2 separate regions of the Homo sapiens genome follow, and region 2 is linked to region 1. Evidence: promoter capture Hi-C in human tissues and cell types (Jung and others, 2019). All regions are on one chromosome and are shown on one strand. Each heading gives the region's core, a stretch centred on a gene start or on the middle of the fragment in contact. The rest is flanking DNA. Distances are from core to core; before and after follow the strand shown.

The links. Contacts are between HindIII fragments. The study calls those that stand out against the background at their distance.
Region 2: a fragment that was not itself captured here is called in contact with the fragment with the promoter of OTP in region 1 in 2 of the 25 tissues and cell types used here (H1 embryonic stem cells and pancreas).

The regions. Positions count from the first base shown.
Region 1 is chr5:77,636,896-77,640,205 of GRCh38, reverse strand. It overlaps OTP (orthopedia homeobox), which reads left to right and starts at 1,493. Exons shown (of 3, transcript NM_032109.3): 1 at 1,493-1,693; 2 at 2,976-3,310. The coding sequence starts at 1,657. RefSeq lists enhancers at 396-950, 951-1,507. The HindIII fragment of the contact is 12,469 bases long and covers 1-3,310 here.
Region 2 is chr5:77,831,346-77,834,655 of GRCh38, reverse strand. No RefSeq gene overlaps it. Among named protein-coding and RNA genes, the nearest start is that of TBCA, 57 kb to the right of the region's middle. The HindIII fragment of the contact is 3,889 bases long and covers 1-3,310 here.

The DNA.
Region 1 (3,310 bases), core at 244-2,743:
ATCTGCTCTCAGCCAGCATTTTCAATGTTTTGTCTAAGTCAATTGGACGGCGAACAAAAAAAGCCATTTGCTCAGTATTATTTAAAACAGACTTCATTGGGCCACCCTTTTGTGGAAGGTTTATTTGCACTAAATGAATAATCTTAATTGCATCACTCTCGAATTAAAAATCAATGTTAATCAAGTTGGGAGTAGTAAATATCAGTTTTCATTGTGACTGGGTAGAGGGCATTTTTCTTGTGTTGCAAATAAAAATACAAGTCAAATAACTTTAAAAGGGCATTATGTTCTGCTACAAATACAATTGAAACGGATTGTTTAGGAGCAGATCAGAAATGGTACAGAATTTTGCACTTAATTTCCTCAGTTATCATTTACAATAAGAACCTCTAGGCTTGACAGCCAAGTCTAAACAGTAGTAAATTAGTACAAATTTATACTGATTTTACTCTAATAATCGTAATAAAAGCTTATAGATTTGGCACTAATTACATAAATGCCTAATGATCTTGAAAATTACTCTGGTTAGAAATATATTACTAATCTAAACTTTGTTGTTGGCTGGCTCTGAAAAATCAGAACATTAGAAATGGTTCGCTTCACTTGTGCAAAGCACTTTAAATTGTTCAAGTAGTTTAACATATTCAAGAGGAAAATAAAGAGCATTTAACTTTATTTACAGCCTTAAGTGGAGTTGGGAGCCGAGCTGAACTTAGAAACTTTGACCAAAAGAGCGAGTTAGGGGCGAGGATGCGGGCGTGGGCCAAGCGGAAGAGCAGGAGCCGGGAAGAAGCCCGGTGAGAAGAGTGCAGAGCGCTCGAACCCACACTCCGCGAGGGTCCCCAAAGCAGACAGCGGGCGCTGGCGGTGCCAGGGAAGCCGACTCCTCTTTGCGCTCTAGGCCCACTGTGGGGTTGGGGCTCGTATAGACCCCAGGGCACAGCCAGGGCGCCTGGACCCTAGGCGCAGGCCTACTGAGCCGCGGCGAAGTCCAGGCGTTGTCTGAAGGCCGCGGTGTGCCCTCGTCGCGCCCTGGGCTGGCGGGCCAATATGAGCGGCAGGCCCAGAGAGCGCAGGTGGGGGCGACCCTCAGGTCACGCCAGGGTCATGGCCCGCTCTGACCCCTGCTCTGCCCCTGCCCTAGGAAGATGTTAGCTCAGAGGCACAGAGCTACGCCTTCGAAGCGCGCAGCGCCGGCCAAGGGGAAGGAAAGGGGAGCCTGGAGAAAATCGCAGGGAAGAACTAGAGGGAGCCGGGCCCAGAAGCTCAGGGCGAGGCCGAGGCGGCTGAGGCTGCTTTAGCTCCTGCTCCGGGCTGGAGCTGCCAGGGCTGCCGCCGCCGCCTCCTTCAGGCGGGCGCAGGCGAGCGGGCGGGCGGAGTGGGGGACTCTCCGGGCGCTGACATTTGCAGGCTGCCCTCCTGATTGGTCCCCTCGCCGAGCTGCTCACGGGTTCATTCAACTGTTAAGCACCTCCCCGTCTCTCTAAAGGACATTATAATGCAAGAAGCCCCCTTTTTAACCACAAACCGAATTTTCTTTCATTTAGGTGATCTATATATATCTATATCGTATAGCTTATAGCTTATATCTATTTTAAATAACTTAAAGCCGCTAAAATTTGGGGGGGAACAGCTTTCGCCCTGGAGCGGTGCGCGATGCTGTCTCATGCCGACCTCCTGGACGCCAGGCTAGGTGAGTGCGCGCCTCTCGCCCGGGCAGCCAGGAGAAGCCGGGGCAGGAAATTGTCAATTTGTTCCTTATTTTACCTTAATGCGACCTAAATGGACTAATTTCTTTAAAAGTAATTGTGCTGCATTAAAGTTTAATTTGATTTAACATCGCCTTTAAAAAAAAATCTATGGAATATGTAGATCCAAGAAAGGAGTTGGGGAATGTTGTTACTTTTTGTTTTTCTTATTTTTCTCTTCCCCCCTCCCCCGCCTTTTTTTTTTTTTCGAAAGGCGATATACCCCGTGATAATTTGTTAGGAGGTGTTTCTCTCTCTTTTTTCCCTCTCCTGTTTGTTTTGATTTGGGATTTCTTTCTCCTTCCCTCCCCCCGTTTCTCTCTCCCCACCATCTTCTTCTCTCCTCCTTTTCTAAGTGTGGTGTAATTTGTAAAAAATCTGGCATAAAGGAGAAGCTGCTGCCATCAAGGCGGATTTGCTAAGTGTGCTGGTTGAGAAGGAGAGAAGCCAAATTCAACCTCACAGTCATCCCCCCCTCTTCTGCAAGGGACTCAGCGTTGCCAATGGCTGTGAGGAATGCGCCTTTTATTTCTCTGGAAAGAAAAGTTGAAATCTCTAAAGTTTGATTCACGGTTGTCCATAGAGTTCACTCGAGTTTCCTTAATGCTATCTGGGTTGCTGAGCTCTGGGTTTCCGGATTGGGAATCTTCGGTGATGGATGTGACTCCATTTTCCAAACACTTTCTCTGATTTGAGGGGGAGGCGGAGCTGATTTGGGTTGATTTCGGGGGGTGAAAGCTTGGAGGCTTATTCATCTTCCGAAAGTAAGAGGGAATCGGCTGAGGGCCGGAGGTACAGTTCGTCAGGCTGCCGAAGCGCAGGTGCCGCAGCAACCGAGGAATTGTTTAATTTTCTTTCTGCCCCCCGCACCCCTGTGTCCAAAGATTTGCTCTCGATTTCCTGGGGCGCCTGGGGTACGGTTTATGGAAGGGATTCAGAGGCATGTTTTATTGCCGGGACTGGGAGTGTTTTATTGTGGGAGAGACGAAAGCTTGTGCTGTTTACTACGGGAGCCGGCTGCGGCGAGGGCAAGGGGCCGGGAGATATTATTCCAACCCGGCTGTCCAAATTCTGGGGAACCCAGCTGAATACCCTGGGAGTTTCTTCCTTAGGACAAGCGCGGGTGCGGAGGGGGCCGAGGACGGGTTGAAGGAAGGCTGCGCGGGGAAGACAGCCCCTCCTGGCATCGCCAAGAAAGTAGTGACCGCGATCCCCTTGCCTCCTCAGGTATGAAAGATGCCGCCGAGCTTCTGGGCCACCGGGAGGCGGTGAAGTGTAGGCTGGGCGTGGGGGGCTCCGACCCCGGGGGCCATCCGGGGGACCTGGCGCCCAACTCTGACCCAGTGGAGGGAGCCACTCTGCTGCCCGGGGAGGACATCACCACAGTGGGCTCTACTCCGGCCTCGCTGGCGGTGAGCGCCAAAGACCCGGACAAGCAGCCCGGGCCCCAGGGCGGCCCGAACCCCAGCCAAGCCGGCCAGCAGCAGGGCCAACAGAAGCAGAAGCGCCACCGGACGCGCTTCACCCCCGCACAGCTCAACGAGTTGGAGAGGAGCTTCGCC
Region 2 (3,310 bases), core at 407-2,906, 190 kb before region 1:
TTTTTTTTGAGATGGAGTGTCACTCTGTTGCCCAGGCTGGAGTGCAGTGGCACGATCTTGGCTCACTGCAACCTCCGCCTCCCGGGTTCAAGCAATTCTCCTGCCTCAGCCTCCTGAGTAGCTGGGATTACAGGCACCTGCCACCAAGCTCAGCTAATTTTTGTATTTTTAGTCGAAACGGGGTTTCACCATATTGGTCAGGCTGAGTCTCGAGCCCCTGACCTTGTGATCCACCTGCCTCGGCCTCCCAAAGTGTTGGGATTACAGGCGTGAGCCACCACGCCTGGCCAGGATTCTTACTTAAAAGATTGTAAATATCTCCAGGGTTGACTTAGAAAAATTCACTAACATAGGTACTTGCTGCATACAATGTGTGCAAAGAGGTGAATTCTTGGTAAACACATGTGTTTGGATTTCCCACTTTCAGGCCCCTGTGTTCTTGGTGAATATAAAAACAGACCCCGCCTTTCTAAACCATGAATCGGACACCTAAGAGGACCACAAAAAGAAAGATCTCAGGTGTCCTCAGAGTTCATTCTTTTTGTCTTTAGTATAGGCAGCTCTACCATTTAATTGCATCAATTTCTAAAAGAAATGTAACAAGATTTTAAGTGTGTGTTCTAGTTGATGCTTAAGCTGAAAGGAAATGAAGTACTCACAAATGTTATATAATATAAGCCAAAGGGTTTTCACAGTTAATTGAAACATCTGAGTAGCATGAAGATTACCTGTGTTTTATGTCTGCCACTGATGAGAAAACGAGAGATTGGTGTGATGTACTCATTGGTTTGTGAATATAAAGGTGTACGGAGAGTGTCACAAATCACCTTGATGTCCCTGAGAAGGAGATTTTACCTCTGAAGCCCTGATTAATAAAAAAAGATATTTAGCTCAATAGCTCTTGGTTGCCTATGCATCTGTGTGTTCTGACACACAGCAGGCCCCTTCATTTCAGGGCTGGAATAACTTACACTCATGAAATCAGCTCAGGATTCATTGTCTTTAGATTAGTATATGTAAAACATCTCAGTTGGAGGCAGTAAAGAGTCAAAACAAATCACACTACACCTGGTTTGAAGATCTGTTCTCATTTGCAAAGGTTATATGAATTTGATATAAGAATACCAGATCATTTTTCCCTGAGCACAAAATTTGTTTATGGCCTGTCCAGAAAAGAAGTGGCAAAGACAGAGAGTTAGATATATTCATCGTCTGCTGTGTGCATGCCTGAGGTCAGCCTGATTTCTGCTGAACTCCAGGTTTTTTTTCTTTTCTGAAGGTGGGGAAGCTTTGGGAGGGAGTGGTCAGGGTGGTGAGCAGCAGGAACAAGAAGACTTGAGCTAAAAGCCCTACTGGACTTGTCATATCCACTTGCACTAGCATACACATAGCTAAAGAACAGACTAGAAGGAATTCAAAGGAACAAATACGCAGATCGAACTTCAATGTTCCCTGTCAGGCATAACATCCTGTGTTGTCTTCAGTAAGGGAAATGGAAGGGGAAGCTCCTCTAGGTTAAAAGGACCAAACCACCACCACCACCAGACAATTACACTGCCCGGGGCTCAGAGTGATTTTTGACTGTTTGTGACTGCATAGCTGGTTGGGAGTGGAGCCAGTTTCCCAGTTCAGTAACTTTTCTTCTACACCACAAAGAATGTTTCCCAGAAAGCTTATTTCCACAGGTAGTTAGCAAAACAAGTGTTACAAAAAGGGGTGATATGGTCCAATAAGGTTAGGAAGCAGACGTTTAAATCCATTCTTTTATTTAAACAATGTTAAGCAGTTTTCTTAGGGGCAGGGCTCCTCAGAGTCCTCATTTGCCGTTGTTGATTGTGACTTACTGATATAGGGTGCAGTGTTCCCAGGCGTGCTTGATGACAGAATCTTTTTCTGTTTTTTGGATCATGGAGGCTCTTTCAGGTTTAGTGATCACAAGGCACCCTTTGGACAAACTTTGTCTACATCAAGGTGATCCTGCAGTGACTGCTTATGTGCTTATTGGTCGAGAGAAGACCAATTCACAGTGTGATGAGGCACTGAAGGGTGAGTCAGGCTCTCAGACCTGCAGGAGCCTTCTCTGCTGAATGAGGTAGTTGGTCTAGAGGAGTGGTTCTCAATTAGTGAAGCAGTTTTATCACACCTGCTGGCAGTGGGACTAGAGGCGAGGAGGGAGCATGCGTGGTAGGCAAAGCTTTCTCCCTCCCCAGTGAAGAATGACTGATTTAGATGTCCCTCCCCATGGTACCTTTATTGACCTAATAACATCGTACATGCATATATTATTTGACTCAGCAATTCTTCTTACAGGAATTTTTCTTACTGGCAAAGTTACATTTTTAAAATACACATAGTGATATTCATCGAAGCAGTATTGGTATTATATTAACAAGAGATCAGAAATGGCTAAATATCTACCAAAGGAAAATATGTAGCCATTACAAAGAATAGAACTACCTCCCTCTGTATGATTAAATGAGAAAAGCAAAGCATGGACACTATAGAGCAGGCAACCTTGGAATAAAACTATATTATACACACTATCAATGTAAGAAATATATTTAAAAGCATATATATAAAGCATATGTTTGTTTATATATTGAATATCTCTGGGAAAATACGCAGAAAGCGTAACAGTTGTTATACTGGAGTGTCTTGGGGACAGAGTTGCCAAAGAGACTTATTTTATACTGTGTACCCTTTTGCACTGTTTGAATTTTTTTCCATATGCAAGGTAGCTGTTCCCAGTTCCTTTTCCCCCCATAAATGTATGCCAATCTTCATATCAACAGATGGAGTCTCTTTCTCCTGCTTTTGAATCTGGGCTGATTTTGTGACACACATTGGTGGGGAAGTGTCCATGAGGTAGGTCCACCCCTAGCCTTTGGGAGAAATGGCAGCTTCTGCTTCTGCCGCCGCTTCCATTAGAAGCCAGCTAACCTCAACCTTCAGGTAAGAAGTTCAATTGCCCTAAGAGCACTATGCTATGAAGAAGCCAATCTAGCCACGTAGAAAAGCCGCATGGAGGGAGAGATGCCCAGCCAGCCCCAAGCTGTTCTAGCCATCCCTGTTGAGGCACCCAATAGGCAAGTAAAGAAGCCATCTCAGACATTTCAGCCCCAGCAGCCAACACATGGAGCAGAAGAATCATCCCGGTGAGCCTGTCTCAGATTGCAGAACTGTAAAAAAAAATACATTGTTGTTTTAAATCAGTAAGTTTTGGAGTGGTTTACTAAGCAGCAAGAGATAAAAAATAATTACCTATTCAACATAAATATGTAAATTAACTTAAAAAGTGTTAATTCATATA